Regions from separate parts of the Homo sapiens genome. Here all the other regions are linked to region 2. Evidence: promoter capture Hi-C in 16 types of primary human blood cells and fetal thymus (Javierre and others, 2016). All regions are on one chromosome and are shown on one strand. Each heading gives the region's core, a stretch centred on a gene start or on the middle of the fragment in contact. The rest is flanking DNA. Distances are from core to core; before and after follow the strand shown.

Evidence for each region. Contacts are between HindIII fragments. The CHiCAGO score rates a contact against its expected background, and 5 or more counts as called.
Region 1: a fragment that was not itself captured here is called in contact with the fragment with the promoter of VSTM2L in region 2 in 1 of 17 cell types (endothelial precursors); the score reaches 5.5 in endothelial precursors.
Region 3: a contact is called between a fragment that was not itself captured here and the fragment with the promoter of VSTM2L in region 2, in 8 of 17 cell types (endothelial precursors, M1 macrophages, M0 macrophages and 5 more). The highest score is 14.3, in endothelial precursors.
Region 4: a contact is called between a fragment that was not itself captured here and the fragment with the promoter of VSTM2L in region 2, in 1 of 17 cell types (endothelial precursors). The highest score is 5.3, in endothelial precursors.

Annotation. Positions count from the first base shown.
Region 1 is chr20:37,546,729-37,552,896 of GRCh38, reverse strand. No RefSeq gene overlaps it. Among named protein-coding and RNA genes, the nearest start is that of LINC01746, 21 kb to the left of the region's middle. The HindIII fragment of the contact is 2,425 bases long and covers 2,889-5,313 here.
Region 2 is chr20:37,899,004-37,904,943 of GRCh38, reverse strand. VSTM2L (V-set and transmembrane domain containing 2 like) reads right to left here and starts at 1,817. Exons shown (of 4, transcript NM_080607.3): 1 at 1,473-1,817. The coding sequence starts at 1,593. It overlaps LOC124904896 (a long non-coding RNA gene), which reads left to right. Exons shown (of 3, transcript XR_007067576.1): 3 at 5,427-5,940. RefSeq lists an enhancer at 1,554-2,517. The HindIII fragment of the contact is 14,867 bases long and covers 1-5,940 here.
Region 3 is chr20:37,581,129-37,586,706 of GRCh38, reverse strand. It overlaps LINC01746 (long intergenic non-protein coding RNA 1746), which reads right to left. Exons shown (of 4, transcript NR_184035.1): 3 at 2,697-2,840. Among named protein-coding and RNA genes, the nearest start is that of LINC01746, 13 kb to the right of the region's middle. The HindIII fragment of the contact is 3,538 bases long and covers 1,361-4,898 here.
Region 4 is chr20:38,206,962-38,213,214 of GRCh38, reverse strand. It overlaps KIAA1755, which reads left to right. Exons shown (of 14, transcript NM_001029864.2): 14 at 1-2,712. The coding sequence ends at 173. Among named protein-coding and RNA genes, the nearest start is that of TGM2, 45 kb to the right of the region's middle. The HindIII fragment of the contact is 1,222 bases long and covers 3,571-4,792 here.

The DNA of each region.
Region 1 (6,168 bases), core at 2,852-5,351, 350 kb after region 2:
GCTGAAATTCCACAAAACATTTAAAGAATACCACTTCTACTCAAACTATTCCAAAAAATTGAAGAGGGAATACTTCTAAACTTATTCTGTGAGTCCAGAATTACCTTGATACCAAAACCAGACAAGGACAAAACAAGAAAATAAAACCACAGCCAATATCTCTATGAACACAGATGCAAAAATCCTCAATGAAATACTAGCAATCAAATCCACCAACACATTAAAAACATCACTCACCATGATCAAGTGGGTTTCATTCCAGAGATACAAGGATGAGTCAACATATGCAAATCGAAAGACATGACACATCACATTAACAGATTCAAGAACAAAAGCCATGTGATCATTTTAATAGATGCTGAAAAAGCATTTGATAAAATTCAGCATCCCTTTATAACAAAAACTCAGCAGTTTTTGTAGAAGGAACATACCTCAAAACAATAAAGGCTATGTATAAAAAACTCAAAGCTAACTTTATACTGAACAGGGAAAATGTGAAAGTATTTCCCCTAAGATCTGGAACAAGGCAGAGATTCTCACTTTAGGTCTCAGCCAGAGCAGTTAGGCAAGAGAAATAAATTAAGGGCATCCAAATTGGAAAGAAAGAAGTCAAATTTTCCTTGTTTGCAGACAACACAATCTTATATTTAGAAAAATGTAAAGATACCAGATATTTTTAGAACTGATAAGGAAATTCAGTAAAGTTGCAGGATACAAAATCAACATACGAGAATCAGTAGCATTTACATATGCCAACAACAAACAATCTGAAAAAAAATTAAGAAAGTGATTCTATTTACAATAGCCACAAAAAATACCTAGGAATAAATTTAACCAAAGAAGTAAAAGATTTTTACAATGAAAACTATAAAACACTGATGAAAGAAATTGAAGAGGAAGGGCTGGCTACAGTGCCTGTAATCCCAGCATTTTGGGAAGCCAAGGCAGGAGGATCACTGGAGCCCAGGAGATCAAGGTCAGCCTGGGCAACATAGGGAGATACCATCTCTACAAAAAATAAACACATAAATTAGCTGGGCATGGTGGCACATGCCTGCGGTCCCAGCTACTCATGAGGCTGAGGTAGGAGGATCGCTGGAGCCTGGGAGGTTGAAGCTGCAGTGAGCCATGATCATGCCACCACTGCACTTCAGCCTAAGCAACAGAGTGAGACCCTGTCTCAAAAAAAAAAAAAAAGAAAGAGAGAAGGAAAGAAAGAAAGAAAGAAAGAGAAAGAAAGAAAAAAATAGTTGAAGAGTACACACATACACAAAAAAAAGGAAAGATTATCACATGTTCATGGATTGGAAGAATTAATATTGTTAAAATATTCATACTACCAAAAGCAATCTACAGATTCAATGTAATCCCCATCAAAATTCCAATGACATTTTTCACAGATATAAGAGAAAACAATACTAAAATGTGTAAAGGGGCTAGGCATGGTGGCTTATGCCCATAATCCCAGCACTTTGGGAGACGAAGGTGGGTGGATCACCTGAGGTCAGGAGTTCAAGACCAGGCTGACCAACATGGAGAAACCCCATCTCTACTAAAAATACAAAATTAGCTGGGTGTGGTGTTGCATGCCTGTAATCCTAGCTACTCGGGAGGTTGAAGCAGGAGAATCGCTTGAACCCGGGAGGCGGAGGTTGCGGTGACCCAAGATCACACCATTGCCCTCCAGCCTGGGCAACAAGAGCGAAACTCCATCTTTAAAAAAAAAAAAAAAAAAGTATAAGGAACCACAAAAGACCCCAAATAACCAAAGAAATCCTGAGCAAAAAAACCAGTTGGTAGTATCACACTAGCTGACTTCAAAATATACTACAAAGTTAACCAAAACAGCGTGGTACTGGCATAAAAACAGACACTTAGACCAGTGGAACAGAATAGAGAACCCAGAAATAAATCCATGCCTTTACAGCCAACTCATTTTTGACAAAGGCACCAAAAGCATACGTTGGAGAAATATTAATAATAGTCTCTTCATTAAATAGTGCTGGGAACACTGAATATTCATATGCTGAAGAATGAAACTAGACAACTTTATATATTTTACCATATATAAAAATCAAATAGAAATAGAGTAAAGGCTTAAATAAAAGACCTGAAACTATGAAACTATTAGAAGAAAACATTGGCCCCGTCCGGGAGGTGGGGGGCAGCCCCCCCCCGGCCAGCCGCCCCGTCTGGGAAGTGAGGAGCCCCTCTGCCCGGCCGCCACCCCATCTGGGAGGTGCACCTAACAGCTCATTGAGAGCGGGCCATGATGACGATGGCGGTTTTGTCGAATAGAAAGGGGGGAAATGTGGGGAAAAGAAAGAGAGATCAGATTGTTACTGTGTCTGTGTAGAAAGAAGTAGACATAGGAGACTCCATTTTGTTCTGTACTAAGAAAAATTCTTCTGCCTTGGGATGCTGTTAATCTATAACCTTACCCCCAACCCCCTGCTCTCTGAAACATGTGCTGTGTCCTCTAAGGGTTAAATGGATTAAGGGCGGTGCAAGATGTGCTTTGTTAAACAGATGCTTGAAGGCACCATACTCGTTAAGAGTCATTACCACTCCCTAATCGCAAGTTCCCAGGGACACAAACACTGCGGAAGGCGGCAGGGCCCTCTGCCTAGGAAAACCAGAGACCTTTGTTCACATGTTTATCTGCTGACCTTCCCTCCACTATTGTCCTATGACCCTGCCAAATCCCCCTCTCTGAGAAACACCCAAGAATGATCAATAAATACTAAAAAAATTAAAAAAAAAAAAAAAAAGCATTGGGGAAATCCTTCAGGACATTGGTCTGGGCAAATATTTTTTAAGTAAGACTTCAAAAGCACTGGCAACAAAAGTAAAAGTAGACAAGTGGGATTTCATCAAGCTAAAAAGCTTCTGCACAGCAAACGAACAAAGAATCAACAAAGTGAAGAGAAAACATACAGAATGAGAGAGAATATTTGCAAGCTATCCATCCAACAAGGGACTAATAACCAGAAATAAAAGGTATTCAAACAACTTAACAGCAAAAAAAAAAAAAAAAAAAAATCAAATTATCAGTTTCAAAAATGGGCAAAATACCTGAATAGGCATCTCTATGTCTTCAAAAGAAGACATACGAATGGCTAACAGGTATATGAAAAAATCCTTAACAGCACTAATCATCAGGGAAATCCAAATCACAACCACAATGAGATATCATCTCAACCCATTAAAAATGGCTATTATCAAAATGACAGAATAACAGATGCTGGCAAGGAGGCAGAGGAAGGGGAATGCCCATACACTGTTAGTGGGAATGAAAGTTAGTACAGACACTATGGAAAACAGTATGGAGGCTTCTTAAAAAAACTAAAAATAGGCCGGGTGTGGTGGCTCACGCCTGTAATCTCAGCACTTTGGGAGGCCAAGGAGGGTTGATCATGAGATCAAGAATTCAAGACCAGCCTGGCCAGCATGGTGAAACCCTGCCTTTACTAAAAATACAAAAAAAAAAAAAAAAATTAGCAATTAGCCAGTCATGGTGGCATGCACCTGTAGTCCCAGCTACTCAGGAGGCTGAGACAGGAGAATTGTTTGAACCCAGCAGGTGGAGGTTGCAGTGAGCCGAGATTGAGCCACTGCACTCCAGCCTGGGTGACAGAGCAAGATTCCATTTCAAAAAAAAAAAAAAAAAACTAAAAATAGAACTACCATATCATTCAGCAATCCCACTATTGGGTAGCTATCCAAAGGAAAGGAAATCAATATATCAACGAGATACCTGCACTTTCTTTTTTTTTTTTTTTTTTTTTTTTTTGAGACGGAGTCTCGCTAGGTCGCCCAGGCCGGAGTGCAGTGGCGCGATCTCGGCTTACTGCAAGCTCCGCCTCCCGGGTTCACGCCATTCTCCTGCCTCAGCCTCCCGAGTAGCTGGGACTACAGGCACCCGCCACCAGGCCCGGCTAATTTTTTATATTTTTAGTAGAGATGGGGTTTCACCATGTTAGCCAGGATGGTCTCGATCTCCTGACCTCGTGATCCGCCCGCCTCGGCCTCCCAAAGTGCTGGGATTACAGGCGTGAGCCACTGTGCCCAGCCAATACCTGCACTTTCATGTTTATTACAGCACTATTCACAACAGCTGAGATATGGAATCAACCTAAGTGTCCATCAACAGATGAATGGATAAAGAAAATGCAGTATATACACACAATGAAATATTATTCAGCCATAAAAACAATGAAATTCTGTCATTTGCAGCAACATGGATGGAACTGTATGTCATTATGTTAAGTAAAATAATCCAGGCACAGAAAGACAAATATCACATGTTCTCATTCATATGTGGGAGCTAAAAAAATAGACTTGATGGATATAGTGAGTAGAATGTTGGTTACCAGAGGCTGGGAAGGGTAGAGGGAAGGGTGGATAGAGAGAGTTTGGTTACTGGGTATAAAAATACAATTAGACAAAAGGAATCAGTTCTAGTGTTCGACAGCACAGTAGGGTGACTACAGTTAATAAGAATTTGTTATATATTTCAAAATAGCTAAAAGAGAAGATTTGGAATGTCCCCAACACAAGGAAATGATAAATGTTTGAGGTTCCTAATTACCCTCACTTGATCATTATCCATTGTATACATGTATCAAATTGTCATATGTATTCTATAAATATGTACAACTATTAGGTATCCCAAAAAAAAGACTTTCCAGACAAATAGAAGCAGACATATTTCACTTGCAGTAGACCTTCACTACAAGAAATAATAAAGGAAGTTCTTCAAGCAGAGGAAGTAATAAAGAGCTGAGATTACAGGTGTGAGCCACTACACCCAGCTGACTTTTTTTTTTTTTAATTACTCTGGTTATTTTAGGTCCTTTCCATTTCTATATAAGGTTTAGAATTATCTCATTAACCTTTACAAAAGTCTTTTGGAATTTTCCTTGGGATTGTGTTTAATTTGTAGATGAATTTGTTAAGAAATAATTTCTTAATATCAAGTCATAAGGCCCATGAACATAGCATGTCTCTCCATTTATTTCAGTCTTTTGAAATTTCTCTCAGCAAGGCTTTTTCGTGTCGAGGTGTGGTGTTGTATATACTTCGGTTTTCGCCCACTGTTCTTGGCTCCTAACTCCCACAGCCCTTGTTCCAATCTTTTGCGATCATGTTTGTGTCAGGCCTCAGGTGGGCCTCTTTCTGGCCTTCTCCTGCCCTCCTTGCTCCTGCCCCAAGGCAGGATTCTAATGTTCACCTACTTTTCTGATTTGGGGTCTTAAGACCCTTACACGAGAGGGTCCTACTTAGGGGAAGGAATGCTCATGTCATGAAGCTTCCAGAAAAACCCAAGAGGACAGGGTCGGTGAGCTTCTAAATAGCTGAACACTGGGAGGTTCCTGGAGGGTGGCGCCCTGGGGAAGGTATGGAAGTGCCTCACCTCTTCCCCCAAATCTCACCCTTCACTCTCTTCATCTGTATCCTATGCAATATCCTTTATAATAAATCAGTAAACATAAGTGTTTCCCTGAGTCCTGTGAGCTGCTCCAGCAAACTAATCGAATCCAAAGAGAGGGTCGTGGGAAGCTCAACTTGAAGCTGATCAGTCAGAAGTTCTGGAGGCCCGGACTGGTAGGCACGGGTGGATGGGCACGGGTGGCAGTCTTGGGGACGGAGCCCTTAACTTGTGTGAACTGACACTGTCTCTGTGTAGACAGTGTCGGAACTGAATTAGAGGACACCCAAATATTCAACAAATATTCACTGAGCACCTATACTATTTCACCAGGTACTATGCTATAAAGAAAGAGTTACATCAGTGAACGCAACAGGCAAATATCCCTGCCCACATGGAGCTTTCATTGTAGAGGAGGAGACAGGTAATAAACACTAACCATAGCTGGGAGCGGTGGCTCACACCTGTAATCCTAGCACTTTGGGAGGCCAAGGCGGGCAGATAACTTGAGGTCAGGAGTTCAAGACCAGCCTAGGCAACTGGTGAAACCCAGTCTCTAACAAAAATACAAAAATTAGCTGCGTGTGGTGGTGTGGGCCTGTGGTCCCAGCTACTCAGGAGGTTGAGGTGGGAGAATCGCTTAAGCCCAGGAGGCATAGGCTGCAGTGAGCCACAATTGTGGCACTGCACTCCAGCTTAGGTGACAGAGTGAAGTCCTGTCTCAAAACAAAAACAAA
Region 2 (5,940 bases), core at 568-3,067:
TCGGTAGAAATGAGGTGAGGGGCATGAAGGGTATGTAAATGATGCACACAGCAGTTACTACCAAACATGGTGAGGCAGAAGGGGGCGGGGAGTCATGGTTCCCAAAAAGCAGAGACCCTGAGGATGGCTTCGAAGCCCCCCTCTCCACTGGAGCAATCCCACTCATGTGTCATACCCCAGCAAAACCTTCCCTGATTATCTACCCTGCCTTACCCCCACTCACTCCCATCAGAATAAATCATCCAATTATCTGGCCTTTGTGCAAACCTCCCCACAGCCCTGGGCCCACAGTGCCCAGCACTGGGGCTGCAGCCTCCCCAACAAGGCTGTCAGCCTGTCTAGTGAAGGGCTGCATGGAAGAAAGGTCTCCTTTGGTTTCATCTATGCTCGAGCCTCCATCCCAGAGCCAGGCTCACAGGGGTCAGGGGGAGCCCCCACAGCTGCCGGGCTCATACAGTCCAACTCTGCTGCCAACTTGGGCTCCTTCGGGGCTAGCAGGAGCTTCTGACACTCAGCCAGCCAGTGCTGGGAATGCTTGTCTGCTCCCCGGCTTCCACAGCGGCTGGAGTTGAGATTTCCCACATTTCAGTCCTCTAGGGCCGAGGATGAGGATGGGGGTACCCTATGGAAGGATGGCACGGCTTCCTGCCCATCCCCAGAGGCAGACAAAAGCACCCGGCATTCCACTTCCACTCCCACTCCCATGCCTCTGGCTGCAAGCAGCAACCCCAACTACTCCGGTGGCTCTGAGGGGCTTCCACCAGGTGCCACCCGCCCAACTGGGAGGCTGCAGCCCCAGGCGACCAGTTCTCAAGAAACAAGGTCTTCTGCCCCCAAGGACCTTTCCAGTGGTATAGGGCTGGGTGTGGAGAGGAAGAGGACAAGGGCCTCTGTGCGGTTAAACCCAGAAGAGTAAAGGCAGATGGGCAGAGAGGAGTGGGTGAGCAAATTGTGTTCATGTGTGTGTATGTGTGTGCCTGTGTGTGTGTGCGCGCGCGCGCACCAGTGTGTCTGCAGGTGGGCAGGCAAGAGTTGTGGCGAAGCGTGTGCGCCAGCTGGCAGAGTGAGCCCACCGGCGCAGTGCCTGATGTGCGTGTGTAGTGGGCATAAGTGTAAAGGCTTGCAGTGAGGAGGGGGACCTGAGGTGTGTGGAGATGTGCAGGGTAGGAGTTGTGAGTGTGAGAAAGCAGCGACTGTGGCTCTGAGTGTGTCCGCGGCTGTGCATATCGGTGTGGCCATGCAGGTGTGCGTATCCGCGCGAGTGTGTGGGGAGGAGGTTCGGGGGTGCGCCCCGGGTGCCCCCTTCTCTGCAGGGCCAGGGTGCCAGGGCGGGTCCACCGCGCCGGCAGGGGGCGCCCCGGGATGCCCGCCACGACTGGCGCCGGTTCGAGCCCCGGGGCGGCCAAGTTGGAGTGGCGCGGCCCGGGTTGGGGTTTGGTGGGGAAGTCCGCGGGGGCGGCGACCGAACTCACCGTGGCCGGAGACGTGGTTGTCCCAGGGCGCGTGGCCGGCGGGCCGCGTGGCGCCGCCGAGTTGCAGGAAAAGTGCCAGGTAGTGGAGGGCGCCCAGCGCTACGGCGAGCGGGGCCCCCATCGTGCGCTCTCGGGCCGGGGGCGCCGCCGCCTCACATCTGGGCCCCGGAGACCGCAGAACCGGCGCCAGCTGTCCCCTGCCCTGAGCGGCCTGGCTGCCCGGCTCCGGCAGCTGCCCCTCGCCCGCTGTCCCCGGACCCGGCCCAGCTCCCAGCCCTCGCCCGGCTCCGGCCCAGCCCCGGCTTCGGGGAGCGAGCGCACGCCCAGCCGGCCGCCTCCGACTGCGGGACTCTTCCCTTCCGCGGAAGGCCACGCCGCGCCGCCGCCGCACCCTCCTCCCTCCTCCCGCCTCCCTCCTCCCCTCCCTCCTCCCCTCCCTCCTCCCGCTCGGAGCAGGCGGCGGAGGGATCTGCCGCTTGATTTATCATCAAAGTTTTGCCCAGGCTGGGATTTTTAAAGCGGTACCCGCAACTTTCCCCCGCCCGAGTGCGGAGGCGGGGCCGGGATGGGGCGGAGAGAGCCACCCCAGGGACGCGGTTCCCGCAAAGCACGACCCAACGGGCTTCAGCCACAGAAATGCCGTCCAGCGGGGAGAGGGAGAAAAGCCAGGGCACCCGCCGCCAGGCCAGCGCACTCAGAGGCTCCTAACTTTACCGGCAGGGCGGGGCCGGGGTCAGGGGCCAGTGGGGCTGGGGGTGAGGGCGAGGTAGGGTGGGAGCCTGGGCTGAGACCCAGGGGACCTGGTGATAGCTCTGCCGCCGACCTCGGCTCGCTGTGTGATCGCGTCCGGGTGTCTACCCCTCTCTGAACCTCGAAGTCTTCATCTGAGAAATAGGGGTAATAGCTGTCTGCGGGGGTCCTGGTGAGGATTTGCGAAATCGTGCATGCAAAGCGCTTAGCATAATGCTGCCTACGTGGTAGGAGCTCAGTAGTTATTATTGTCGGTGTTCCCCTTTCTGGGACTCAGTTTTCGAGTCTTTGTAATGGGAGAGAGACAGGCCAGTTAGTTGTTGCGGCTCCTGGCTCTTGAAGATACTGGACCTTATGTGGTGGATGGGATCGCCCCCTTCTGGACTGTAGGCTCCTTCCCTAGACCAATGAGCCTTGATGGTGTGTGTGTGCATGAGTGTGTGTGTGCGTGTGCGTGTGCGCGCGCGTATGCGTGGGTGTATGTGTGTGTGAGTGTGGCAGGGGAGGGGGATAGGGCACCATTCCCATTCCCAAGAGCAAGAATCCAACAAAGTCCTCCAGTTCCTTCCCAAGCCGTGTTACTGGGGCTGATGGGACAGACAGGAGGGCGGAACTGTGGTCCCATTTAAAAGATAAGGAAGCGCCTGAAATCAGGTAATTAGCTTCTCTGAGGTCCCACGGCGAGTCGGGCGAGGCCCCTGACTCCTGGGCGGGGTCCCTCCTGCTCTCATCCCTTGCCCTTCCCCAGGCCTCCCTGCTCACACAGCCTGGTCCTCCCGGTTTCAGCACCACGGAGGAGGACAGCGCCAGCCCCCCCCCCGCCCCCCGCCCCCCGCCCCACCCGGGCCCATCCTTTGGGCACCGTGGACAGCGTCTCAACTGGCCCTTTGATGCTAGGGTTCACACCGTGGACAGACCCTCAGACTTTCTTCCCCGTCCCCGTCGAACAGGGTCAACCCCTCCGACAGCCCACTCCCCACTCCAGAACACAGGTGGATCCCGCGTCCAGCCGTGTGTACAGCGCCCAAGTTTGAGAACAAGGTTAGAGACCAAGGAACATAGCCCCTCGCCGTCTTCCCTCTGTCTTAGCGCCCCCCTTCCAGTATTATGGGGGGGGGGTAGCACACCGGATGGGGCCCGTGGTAGCCAGCAACAATCCAGCTCCTTCCAAACTAAGGACACCTCCTCCACGATGTCCCGCACTTACAAGCACTGTGTTCTAGCACCGTCCACAGCCCCCGCGCTCCCTTCAGTACCGAGGACAGGTCCCAAGCGTCGACCGCTTCCCCCACCCCCCGAACCTTCTGGACCACATGCCTTGGAGGAAGGGGCCGTGTTTGCCTGATTCTCTCACTTCTCACTTTCTTCCCACACAGAGGTGGTGTTTAGGTTATCCTGGGCTGGCCAGGCGTCTTGGACTCTATGCACGTGTTTTCTCATTCATTAACTACCCTGAACCCCGCTCCCAGCGAAATGAACTACTGCTTCCATCATAAAGATATGGAAACTGAGAATCCTCCAGATCACATAGCAGCCACCATGTTAGCCAGACTAAAACCCAGGACTCCTTCAACCCCAGCCTGAGGCCTCACCAGGAGACTGTGGTGACAGAACTGGGACTCAAACCCGGGCTTTCTCCTCTTAAACCACAGATTGGAGGGAGCAGACACAGGCAAGGGGACAGGGAGGGAGAGGAGATTAAAGAGGAGTAAACAAGAGATTGCTCAGGCCTGCAGAGGAAGGGGGTCTGGCGGGATGGCAGCACATTGCTGCTGTGCCCCTAGCCCACCGGCTGACCTTCAGAAATCTTTTCTCTTTGAAGCCTGGAACAAGGTCAAGGTTCCTTCAAGGACAGACATCCAGGGATTGTATGCCTTTGAAAATGCTCGTGATCGGCCAGGTGTGGTGGCTCACGCCTGTAATGCCAGCACTTTGAGAGGCCGAGGTGGGCATATCACGAGGTCAGGAGTTCGAGACCAGCCTGACCAACATGGTGAAATCCCATCTCTACTAAAAATACAAAAATTAGCCAGGAGTGGTGGTGGGCACCTGTAATCCCAGCTACTCAGGAGGCTGAGGCAGGAGAATCGCTTGAACCTGGGAGGCGGAGTTTTCAGTGAGCCAAGATCACACCATTGTACTCCAGCCTGGGTGACAGAGTGAGACTTCATCTCAAAAAAAAAAGGAAAAAAGAAGAAAATGCTCATGATATAATGGTTCTGCTAAAAAAACCCTCTGATGGCCTGTTTATGTGAGAAATCCTGACTTCTCTAGTTTGCATTCAGGGTCCCAGACTCACCTCCTGCACATATCCTGTGCTCTCTTGGGCATGCCTTGGCCTCATTACATCTTCAACCTTCCCAGTGCTTCCCCTGTGCTTGTATGCCTTCCCCTCTGTCTAGCTGAGTCCCCAGTTGGGCGAGGTCCAGCCTGAGTCCCCATGGGAAGAAATGCCTGCTGCCTTCTCCCAGTCCCCAAGCCTCTGTTGGCTCATCACTGTATGCCCAGCATGGCCCTAAGAACTTTCATTATTCCCCTTAATCCTCAGAACCACCAGGCCAGGTAGGGTAGGATGGTGTGGTTAGAAGTGTGGGCTCTAGAGCCATATTCTCTGTTTTGAATCCTGCCATTTGGTAGCTGTGTAAACTTAGACAAGTTGCTTAGCCTCCCTGTGCCTCAATTTTCTCGTCTGTAAAACAAGGGTAATAATACCTCCTTCACAGCAGGGTGGTGGGGATTAAATGAGTTGTTACATGGAAAGCACTTAGAACAATGCCAGGCACATGGCAAATACATGATACATGTTGACTAGTGTTCTTGATATCTACAGATGAGGACATAGGTTCAGAAAGGTTAGGTATTTTGCCTAAAGCGACATAGCAAGGCCATGATGTGTTTGATTCCAGAGCCAATCAAACATTTCATATGTTTGATTCCAACCTACCCTCTTGGCACCTTAAGAAACTAAGACCCAGAGAAAGTAATTCACTTTCTCAGAGCCACACAGCCACTCATGACAGAACTGGATCCAGGTCCTTTGTCTCCCAACTCAGAGACCTCCCACTATACTGTACTGTCCCACTTGTATTTCCTGCAGCACCTAAACTACACTTTACAGTTTACAAATCACATTCACACCCATGATCTCCTATAATTCATACAACAACCCCTGAGGCTGCTATTATACCCTTCCTTCTTTTACAGATGGAGAAACAAAGCTCAGAAAGATGATGTAACCTGCACAAAGTTGCACAGTGAGGTAGGGCAGAGGCTGAATGTGAACGGACACATCCCAGCCCATCCTCCTCCCCTGTGTAATTGTGCCTCTTGTCTGCTTCCCAATGCAAGTGTAATCTCTGGGCACCGTGGAAGCCGAGAGCCTAGTGGAGGCAGAAGGTAAGCAAAGACTAGCCCAGGAAACAGTCTCTAGGAATTCACTAGAGTGGGTGACGCCTGTCACTCATTTCATTCTGGGAATGCTGCAGGAGATGGAAAGCCTCCCATCCCTGGAGGCAACTAACATGCCTCTAGTGGTCGTGTGGATGCCATGAGGCAAATATCACTGCTATTTCCATTATATAAATGAGGCTCAGAGGTGAGCATCACGTCAAGTATTTCAATTGGGAAAGATGATATTTTTAAACTTCCCTCTAAGCATGGGATCTTGCACTGCCCCTTACTGCTGAGCCAAGCTCCCTGGAGAGTCTCCATACCCTCC
Region 3 (5,578 bases), core at 1,880-4,379, 320 kb after region 2:
ACATTACATTATAAGCCCATCAACATAGCTTTATAATTATTGCTTTGTGCAGTTATCTTTTAAATAAGATTGAAGAAAAAAGTTATAAACAAAATTACATTTATGTAGCCATATATCTACCTATGTAGTTATCGTTCCTCCTTATTTCTATACTTTACTTCTATAACTGTTGTTTCTTCATGCAGATTCCAGTTACTGTTCTTTCATTTCAACCTAAAGGACTCCCTTTAGTATTTCTTGTAAGGCAAGCCTTCTAGTAATAGATTCTCCAATATTTTAAATCTAGGAATGTCTTAATTCCCCATTTTGAAGAATAATTTGCTGGATAAAGAATTCTTACTTAGTAGTCTTTCTTTCAGCACTTCAAATATTCATCCCACTGCTTTCTGGTCTTCGTGGTTTCTCATATAAAGTCAGCTGTTAATCTTCTTGAGGACTGCTTGCACCTGGTAAATCACTTTTATCTTGAGACTTTCAAGATTCTCTCTGCTTTGGGCTTTCAACAGTTTGACAATGAAGTGCCTAGATACAGACCCCTTTAAGTATATCCTTCTTGGAGTTTGTCGCACTTCTTGGATGTGCAGATTAATGTTTGTTGACTAAACTTGTGGAGGTTTTGGTCATTATTTCTTCAAATATTCTTTCTTCCTCATCTCTCTCTCCCATCTTTCTGAGACTTCCATTTTGCACATGTTGGTACACTTGGTGGTATCCTACAGGTCTCTGAGGCTCTAGAGTTCACTTCTGTTTCTCAGACTGGTCCAGTGACCAGATCCCATCCTGAAGCTGTCTAGGGCCCCCCACCTACCTCATCAGTCATGTCATTAGCATACAAAAGACACTAATTACTCTGGAGATTCCAAAAGTTTTAGGAGCTATATCCCAAGAAACAGGTAGAAAACTAAATACCACTGTTTTCAAAAATATCACAGAGATAGGGAGAGAGAAATGGGATTAAGGCAGGTTAAAACATCATGGAGGTGGATGCCTGTGGTGCCAGCTACTCAGGAGACTGGGAGGTGGGAGGATTGCTTGAGCCCAAGAGGTTATGGCTGCCGTGCCATGATCATGCCACTGCACTCTAGCCTGGGTGACAGAGCAACACCCTGTCTTAGAAAAATGAAAACAAAACATCATAAAGCTCATGGTCTTACCAAGATTCAGCTATTTTAAAATCAACACTCCTCAGATTAATGTAAGCTTTTAATTTCCAGTGTTTCAAAAAACTATATTGGAGAGTTTCTCCAGTATTTTCATTGCTTTTATGAAGGAGCAGATTTTTGGAAGTCCTTCCTCCACCATTCAAAAAGCCACTGGGACATGGATTTTTCTTATGTATCTTTTTTAATTGTGTGAAGCTTTTATCATGTCCAGGTATTACCAAATCAAAAAATAAAATAAATCTAAAAATGAAATAGGGTACATACACATCTCCATGTGCACACACAGGATCCAGGAGCCCACATGCATAAGCATAGAAATGTGCCTGTAACACACATTCATTCATCCATGCTGTGGAGTGGCAGGGTCAGCTCTGGATTTCAGGAGTCTCCCCAACCCCTGGTTGCAATGGGGAGCTTGGAGGGGATGAGATGGAAGGCAGAGAAGCCAAGAAGAGGCTGGGGAGTCATCTGGCAGCAGTGATGGTGTGGCATGGACTTGGTCCAGGGGGAGCTACACGCATGTCCACAGCTACTAACTCCTCAGGACCCCATGTGCACACCGGTCTAGGCATGTGCATATGTAAATACAGGGTCCATGTGTTCGGGCATGCATGCATCCGGCAGCATGCTGTTCAAGTTAAAGAGAAATGTAGTACAGACGTCCCAGAAGGGCTGGGGGACTGAATTATAAAACATAAGGGGACTTGGTGAATAGGACAAGATTCTGGAGGGGAGGGGATGAGGAAGATGCAGTTTTCTGGCCTGATGGCCTGGGCCCACCAGCTTCCCTCTATCAGGCAGACCCATGCACCACATTCTGCTCTGGGACCCCCTTTTCTAGCTATGCTGACCCATCCTGGTCATTCCGGAAGCCTATCTCTAGGATAGGGCACAGTTTTGTCAGCCCCTCGTGGAGTTGGCGGGGGGGAGGTGTCATCCTTGGTCACCCTGATTTGTTATCAGCCCTTTCTGTGTCATTCTAGGTCATTTCCCTTCCTTATGAACAATATCTGCAGATGAGAGTAATGTTTGTATCTTGACCTACCCCACCCCTGGAGTTAATCTTATCATGCACTCTGGGTCACTCCACTGCAGAGAGTACACAGGCAAAGGCTGGAAGCTCGCTGGGTAAGCTCCCGGATGTCACAGACATGACTAGCTAATCCCTAACCCCTTCTGACACCAAAGATCACAGGCCTTCTAAGTCCAAGATGCTACAATTCAAGATTTTTCAAAACATGATTTCTTTTTGTTATGAATTACTTCAGACATTCAAAGAATAAATTAATAAAGACCAATGTGCCCATGATCCAGTTTTAACTTATATTAGAATTATGCCTGACTTGCTTCAGTTCTTACCTTTTATTTATTTTTTAAAATGTATTTTGTCAGCAAACAAGCGTATTTATTCCTTCTCGGGTTGATGAGCATTTGGGTTGTTTCCAGGTTTTTGTTATTGTGGACAGAACTGTTATAAGCATTCTTGTCATGTCTGCTGCTGTGTGTGTGCAAGAGTTTCTCTTGGGTATTTACCTGGGAGTGGAATTGCTGAATATTCACCTCCATGAGATACTGCCAAATTGTTTTCCAATGTGGTTGCATCAATTTGCACTCCACCAGCAGTGTCGGGGAGGTCTTGGGGACTTGCATCCTCCGATATCCTTACACAATGGAATGCTATCCAGCAGTCAAAATGAATGAACAACAGCCACAAGCAACAACAAATGTGAATCGTAGCAAAGTAATAGGAAGGGAGAGAAGTCAGCTTCGGAAGGATACAGAGGCCATGCTTCTCTTTTAAAAACTTATAAACAACTTACATACAGAAACACATGTATATGTATATTTATATATAATTTATAACTAATAAAAATATATAAATAAAATGTTACAGATACAATTGAATACCCCTGTATATACCACTCACCAACCCAATTCCTTTCTCTTTCTCCTCCCAACCCCTGAAAAGAAAATGCTTGGCCGGGAGTGGTGGCTCACGCCTGTAATCTCAGCACTTTGGGAGGCCAAGGCAGGCAGATCGCTTGAGGTCAGGAATTCAAGACCAGCCTGGTCAACATGGTGAAACTCCATCTCTACTAAAAATACAAAAAAAAAAAAAATTAGCCAGATGTGGTGGCACGCACCTGTAATCCCAGCTATTCGGGAGGCTGAGATGACAGAATTGCTTGAACCCAGGAGGCAGAGGTTGCGGTGAGCCAAGATTGCACCACTGCACTCCAGCCTGCGTGACAGAGCAAGACTCCATCTCAAAAAAAAAAAAAAAAAAAAAGCAAATGCTCTCAGGGAACAGGGTGTGTAGCCTCTCTACCCATCATGTTTATTTTTATTTATTTTTATTTTTATTTTTTTGAGAGTAACTCTAGAGAGTAGCAGAGATTCTTCACTTGACCAAACTTTAGTCAGGCTCCCGAAACTCTGCTAAGCCCATCTGCATACTTTCTTACAAAATCCAGTTTTAGCAAGAACCCTAAGTCAGTTTAGCAAGAACCCCCTATCCTCAATATCTGATCATCCTTCATATCTAATCAGGCTGTTCACCCTCCACCACGGCCCAGATTATGCCTGATCCCCCTGGCCTGTCTTCAGCAAGAATCCTGTTAGATCAGTTGAGTCAGATTCTCCCTCACCCCTGATGCTTCCTCTCAGTCATTTTCCATCCTTGGACCCCTGCACTGCTCCTTAGCCATAAATCCCACTTGCCCATGCTGTATTTGGAGTTGAGCCCGTTCTTTCTCCCCCACCGCAAATTCCCGTTGCAATGGTCCCTGTTGCCATGGTCCTGAATAAAAAGTCCACCTTACCACTCTTCAACAAGTGTCGTTGAATAAATGTTTCTGTTTTTCTTGTTGTTTTGTTTTGTTTTTTGTTTGTTTGTTTAGATAGCTCTGTCTCCCAGGCTGCAATGCAGTGGCACAATCTCGGCTCACTGCAACCTCTGCCTGCCAGGTTCAAGTGATTCTCCAGCCTCAGCCTCCCAAGTAGCTGGGATTACAGGCATGTGCCACCACACCCAGCTAATTTTTAGTAGAGACAGGGTTTTGCCACGTTGACCAGGTGGGAATAATTTTTTCTCTAACAGATGTGACCCAGCTCCCAGTCACCCCTAGGATCCCCAGTGCAGTCCCCTCAGCTGGGTTTCAGGAAAGGAGTCGAAGGGAAACCCGGAGCCCTTGAACCTGCAGGCCTCTGAGAAAGGAGTCCTACCCCATCTCCAGGCCTGAGGGTGATGTCAGAATCCACAGCCACATCTAGAAGACTTGAGAGCAACGGTGGCCTGTGCCCTACTCCAGGCTGAGCCCCAGTCTGGGTCCACAGGTCTGATATGGCCCAGCAGAGACCCCTGTGCCCAGCATGGTGTGGGAGCATCAGAAAGACTCAAAAGACCAGAGCAGCCTTGTGGACAGTTGCATGCCATGGTGACCAGCCACTGAGGGTCAGAAGGGGCATCATGTCTTGATAGGCAGACAACTGAGGAGTCACCTCTCCTCTCCCATGACCTGTGGCAGTCCCCCAAGTATCATCCAGCCCCATGAAAGAGGGAAGCCCGGTCCGCCTGGGTTTCTTCCATCCTGGCAGAACGGAGCTTGAAATGCAAGTTCGATGCATTATTTAAAAACAAAGGAAGCTACATTTCTTGCACACCTGGGGTGTGGGTGGAGAGTTACACTGAATGCATTCAGAGCTGAGGAATCTGGGTTTCTAGGAAAACAAGCTTTCCAGGTTCTAAGATTCTAAGCTCCCCAAACCTCTAGGTTCAAGGATAATTTGGAAGCAGGAAATGTGTAGCTTTGGGGCTCCTGAGACTTCTGCCAGAGTTACGTCCATTTTCCTGACTCTCCCAGACCCTACGAGACAGCTAAAGATAAGAGATATGGGAAAAAGCCCACCTACATCCCTCCCCAAGATTCTGCTGGCCTTGACAACTCACTGTACCAGCGGGGAAACTGAGGCCTACAGAGGGCCTGACTTTGCCCTGGTCACACAGTCAGCACTAACCCAGGCCACCTCACACATACCCTCCTCCCACGCCCCCTCAATGCGTCTTCCCCAAGTCTGGGCTGCCCCCTTGCCTCTGCCCAGGACAATAGATTCAGGTGGGAGCCGGGGGTCCGCGGGGAGTGGTTGCCTGTGATCCCCATTGCCCGGGCAGGCATGGCCACTCCCTAGGCCCCAGGTCTCTCGCTGCCAAAGGTTGCCATCAATTTTCTGTCCACCACATTTGTCTGCAAACCATGAAGAAAAATCGCTCCCATCTCTCTGCCTCAGCTGCCACTGTGATATATGACTTCAATCAGAGACCCCTCCTCCCCAGAAGCACCCTCCTTCTCCCCCAGTCTCCCCAAGGCTGGGGGTTAGGGGGCAGGGGGAAATGGAGTGATACTGAACCAGCTAAT
Region 4 (6,253 bases), core at 2,932-5,431, 310 kb before region 2:
AGCTGCCTGACCCTGCCCGCGAGCATTTGCTTGCCACCACCTTCTTCCGGCAGCAGCCCCCCAGGCAGAGCCAGGTCCCTCGCCTCACTGGGGGCAGCTTCTCCTCAGAGGGGACAGACTCACAGACATCCCTTGAGGACTCACCCCAGACAAGTCCCCTTGCCTCCCTCTAGCTGAGAGGCCCCTTCAGTCGCACCAGCCTCCAGGAGCACTGGGCCAGGGCCCAGCTGGAGGGGTAGCTGGGAGCTCTGGTCAGTCCCAGTGAGACGTCACCATGGAGCACTGGTTTTACATTCTGCCTCTGCTGGGAGGATGAGAACTGTCGACCTGCCCCTGGCTCCAGAAAACTCCTGGAAGACCCGATCTTCACCCATGCAGAATAGCAAGAGTGGGCGTCAGAACCAGGGCACAATAAATGGTGTGATTGGCTCCATCCCTCCAGGCTCTCATTGTGGAAAGACCTGTCGGCACAGACCCCTCCAGAGGTCTCGCTCGCAGGCAGGCAGACACCCACCTGCAGCTCAGGAACATACACAGCTCTCCCCTCGGGTACGAGGGCCAGTGTTGCCCTTAGGCAGAATCCTCGGGGAGATTCGGGAGTGCTTCCTTGTCTTGGATTCCAGGAAAATGGACCCTGAGATGAGGATTTAAGGATCAGTGTGTTTGGTGCTGATCCAGGAACCTCTGCTGGGGGAGTAGGAGGCGAATCTGCAAAGGGAATAAAGAGTATGTTGTCAAGCAAATTTTCTTTTTTTTAATTTTTAAAACTTCATTGTATTTTATGTTTAGAGATGGGGCCTCACTACATTGCCCAGGCTGGTCTCAAACTCCTGGGCTCAAGTGATCCTCTTGCCTTGGCCTGCCAAAGTGCTGGGATTGCCTTTTCCGCCCACCCCCCCCGACCCCACCAGAGACAGGGTCTCACTCTGGTGTCCAGGCTGGAGTGCAGTGGTGCAATCATAGCCTTAAATTCCTGGGTTCAACCAATCCTCCCACCTCAGCCTCCTAAGTAGCTGGGACTACAGTTATGCACCACCATGCTCAGCTTATTATTTATTTATTTTTTGTAGACATGGGGTCTTGCTATGTTGCCCAGGCAGGCTGATCTCAAGCTCAAGTGATCCTCTGGACTCAGCCTCCCAAAGTGCTGGGATTATACGTATGAGCCACTGTGCCCCACCCTCATACAAATTTCCATGTTGGCAACTGTAGCTGGATCTTTCTGGAGATCTCTGAAAGACAGCATGGAATCCTTGAACACCCCCTGAGGCGTGAGGCATCCAGAGCATTTATCTGCCAACCCTCAGGAGCTGGCACTCGTAGACAGCACGCACAGCCAGCTCCATTGGTCTTGGCAAAGAGAATTGCCTCCTGGAGCCAGAGGCCGGTTCCTGTGCTTAGAAAGGAAGGACATGTCTTCTGTGCTCCCTGTCTCACAAGGCCTCTTCAGCAGGCATGGGACCTTCATTCTCAAGTTCAAGGAACCCTGTGGAACCTTGTCCTTGTCCTCCAGAGAGAATCCTCTCCGCCTTAGAGGTCCCTCCTCTCTCTCACCTCCCCACCAAGCCTCCCTGAACTCAATGTCTTCTGTCCCCTTCCCTGCCCAACTTCCACTTCTCTATGCCCAGCCTCTGTGGCCCAGTACCATTGGGGTTCTGTGGGCAGCTGGGTCCTGGTGGTTGGGGACCGTGGGAAGGGGCCTATCTGTCGGATCTTAGATGGAGCATCCAGAAGCCCCACCCTTCATACTGGCCAGAGTGGCCCCTGCCAGCGCCTCTCTGGAGTGTCATTAAGCTGAAAGTGTTTGCCTTACCTCTGCAGTAGGATGCATTACTGAAGTGGCCTCTTGGTCACCTAGCTCTGAATTTTCCTGGCTCCAGAAAGAGGCTGTGGGGCACAGGTCCCCCACAATGAGGCTGTGAAGGGGAGAGAGGCAGGCCTGGGCCAGGCACAGGAGGACAACTAGGGCTTCTCAGGAGCTGTCTCAGCCAAGAGTCACACACTTGATACCTAAAATGGCTTCAGGAATCTTCCAAGACTGAAGACTTCCCCAGGTGTGGTCTAGGGCCTGCCTGCCTCAGAGCCATGAGCAGAGCCGGTCAAAAGGCTTCCTAGGGAATCCTACCCCAGACATTAAAATAGACTCTTGGTGCTGGCAGGTGGCTGGAATCTGCGTTTGTAGCCAAGTGCTCTTCCTGTGTGACTCAGCAAAGTGGGGGTGCATTTGGGGAACACCCGGGGCTGGGGCCTGAGTCCTCCACCCAAAGCCAGGTTTGATTCTTGCATTCCCCTCCCTGCCTTCCATCCAGACAGGCCCAAAGATGCAAGAGGCGTTGATCAGCCCATCTCCATCCATGCCTGTTGCCTCAGAGAGGGCCGACGGCTTTTAAAATGCTGTTGCCATAGCAACAGCATCCAGCCAGTGGGTACCACAGGCAGGGAGCCACAGAAACTGGGGTGCTGGGATGGAAACTGACTTGTGAGAGACCACAGCTACTGCTAGAAGGAAGGGGGGCAAAGCGGGCACAGGTAATCTAAGAATACTTGGGCGGGAGGAGTCCCCAAGGTTACCTTGTGCATCCCTCTGTCCCCAGAAAGAACTGTACCCCAACAATCTCTCCCCTCACTGCATCCCCTGGGGAAGAAGGGAATGCAGAAATGAAATGTCATAATGAGTAACAATGTATAAAAATATCGAATAATAACAGCTAACATTTCTTTTGCATTTTCTTTGTGCCTAGCTTTGAGCTAAATCCTCTAAAAGCTTTACAGGGCTTGTTGAATTTTTTTTACAACATTATGAGGACTGATTCCACCCTATTTTACTGAGGACAAAGCTGAAACTCAGAGAGATTTGGAGGTACCTTGCCCAGTGCCACAGTGAGGGGCAGAGCTGGACTTGATCTGGGCCTAGTTTATTGACTTTGCCCAAATATGCCCACAGTAGGGGCATGGCATGGCATGGCCTCCCCCAGAGATTCCCTGCGAGTGATGACATAGCTTTGAATCAGCAAAGCCTCAGCCCCTGAGAGACTGCTCTGAGGAGGCAGAGGCCACAGTGCCCCTCCATGGGATTTTTAAACAAAGTTTGAAGCCTGCTGTGGTGGAAGAAGATGGGCTTTCAAGGAACCCCAAGTCAGCCAGTGATGTGACTGTCAACATCCCACTGTGATGGGAACACTTTTTTCAAGCTCAAGGGGCTGGTAGGCAAGAGACAGAAAGAGAAGCACAGCCTGGAAGTCAGGCACTTCAGGTGCCACTCTGCCCTGTTGCTGATGGCCTGGTCACCCGAGGCAGGTTGCTTCCTCTCTCTGGTGCTCAGTTTACCCCATCTTTCCAATGGAGGCGTTGGATGGATGAGGATCTTTCTCATCTTGGAGAGCCCTGCTTTTGAATCCAGGCTTAACAGCCTAGTGCCTCTGAGTAGATAGGTGCTCCTCAGTTTTTCCATCTGTCCACTGGATTTGCCAAGCCTGCTGGGTCAGGAAAATAAGATCTCTGGATCCTTGTGTTCCACACCAAGACTTCTTCCTTTCCAGAGGAGTAGCCATCTTGTGAAGGAACAAAGCTTTGAAAAGACTTTTCACTGCTGGGCAGTGATGTGGGGCAGACATAGGACTGAGCCCCAATAGAAGTCTAGGCACTTTACAGTTCGCAAAGCACTTTTTGTCCATCTATTTCCCATCTGATATTTACTACAACCCTTTGGGTCACAGAAGTCATACTCTGAGATGGCCCCATTTTACAGATGGGAAGACTAAAGCCTGGAGAGGGGCAATGACTTGCCCAAGGTCACACAGCCAGGAAAGGGGCCAAGAAGGGGAAAGCACAGGGTCTGGGCCTGGTTCTGGATCAATGCCAAACCCAGGATTGTGGATGAGCGTGTGTTTTGTCAGCCACTTTGAGGTAGGCCCCTCACACCCTTGTGACACAGACAGGGTGGCTGTCACACCCACTTTAGACCCAGACAGGGTGGCTGGCTGGGGTCAGAATACAGTCTGACCTCATAAAGCAGAGATGTCCTGTTCTCCAGGGGCTGTGAATTGGCCTCCAGCCCAGGACAAATTTGCCTCGTCTCAAACCCCAGCTGAAAATAGCTCTCTGAGGCCAGAGCCAGAGAGTCCCCTGTAGGGTAAGTGCTCTGGATAGGCGGCAGGACTCTGGGGGTCCCATTGCCCTCTGCCTGGGGCATGCTGGGGAACTCTGGGTAGTCAGGTACTTCCTTAGGACCTCCTTTCCCCATCTGTGAAATGGAGGGATTAGGTCAGACCAGGAAGGAAAACTGGTGGTGTTTTGCATGTGGAATCTCTGACCTGCCCTTCCAGTCCTGCTTCCCTCTCTGTGCACTGACCATCCATCCAGGTACCCAGGCTGGAAACTTGCAAGTTGTCCTCAAACCTCCCCTTAACCCCTAAATCCACTCTCCTGATCTCTCTGTTATCTTCTACTTCTCTCTCCCTCCATCGTCCTCACCCTCATCCCAGCCTCCATCCTCTAGCCCCAGACAACTATAACAGGGTCCGCAGTGGTCTTCCTGCAGTCACTTGGATCCCCTTCATCTGTTCTCCACCCAGAAACTAGAGGGGTATTTCAAAATGTAATATAATGTCAGCCCCGCTTAACCCTGAACAGTAGCACCTCATAGCTCTCCAGATAGAAAATCCAACCTTTCTGTGATCTACAAAGCCTGTGTTGTCAGCCTCTGCCCTCCACTTCAGCCTCATCTCAATCTCCATGTCTTCTGAGTTCCAGAAGCACTAACTTGTTTTCATTTCCTCAGCCATTCCAAGCTTTTTCTGGGGTCAGGTTCCCCAGAAGTGGACCTAGGGGTGAGGATTCAGGTACAGGTGATTCATTGAAGAGGTGATCACAAGAGAAACCAGAAAGGCAAGCAGAACAGGGAAGGGAGGGAAGCCAAGGTGCAATTTCAGACCAAGTCCCTGCCTCTGCCTGACTGCGTGGGGGAACTCTGGAGGACATTTTACACCTCCAAGGCACTTCAGGCTTTCTGCAGAATCATGTGGCACAAAGCAGAGTCTGGTAGCTCCAGGGCAGACCTTGGAAGAGAGTTGCAAGTGTGGGCCCATAAAAGATAATATTCTGTATCAATAATATGTAAAAAGCTCTCACAGCTAAATACTACTATTAATAATAGTAAATTTTAAACTGGACAAAGGACCTGAATAGGCTTTTCTCCAAAGAAGATGTACAGATGGCCAATAAGCACATGACAAGATATTCAACATTACTGGCCATCAGGGAAATGCAAATCAAAACCACAAGGAGATATTGTTTCACATCCACAAAGATGGCTATAATAAAAAGACGTATAACAAGTGTTGGTGAAGATGTGGAGAAATCAGAACTCTCATACACTGCTGGTGGCAATGTAAAATGGTGCAACTACTTTGGCAAGCAGTTTGCCGGTTCCTCAAACTGTGAAACATCAAGTTATCATATGACCAAACAATTCCATTACTAGGTCAATACCCAAGAGAAATGAAAACATATCCACACAAAAATTTATACATGAATGCTTATTGAGAATTATTTCTGATAGTCAAAAAGTAGAAGCAACCCAAATGTTGATTAGCTGTTGAATGGATTTTTTAAAAACGGATTTTAAAAATATACACATAATGAAATATTATTTAGCCATTAAAAAGGAATGAAGTCACTTCCTAACATTTTACGAAGCCACTCTTATCCTGATATCAAAGCCAAATGTGGACATCACAAAGAAAATTACTAAACTTATGAATATACCTCATGAATATAAATGCAAAAATCCTCAACAAAATGCTAGCAAACCAAACATGACAGCATCTTAAAAGGATTATACAGCATGACCAAGTGGGATTTATTCTCGAAGTGCAAAGATAGCTAAACATAAGAAAATCAATCAGTGTAATATGCCAAATTAATGGAATAAAGGAAATTAAACCACACGACCATCTTAATCAATGCAGAAAAGGCATTTGACAAAACCCAATAGCTTTTCATGATAAAAACACTCAGAAAAATAGGAATAAAAGTGAACATACTCAACATGATAAAAGGCATTTATGAAAAACCCACAACCAACATCAAATTCAATGGTGAAAGACTAAAAGCTTTCTCTCTGAGGTCAGGAGAAAGACAAGAATGCCCACTTGCAGCACTGCTATTCAGTATTTTACTGTAAGTTCTAGCCAGCGCAGTTAGACAAGAAAAAGGGGAAAAAGGCATCCAACTGGAAAAGCAGAAGTAAAAC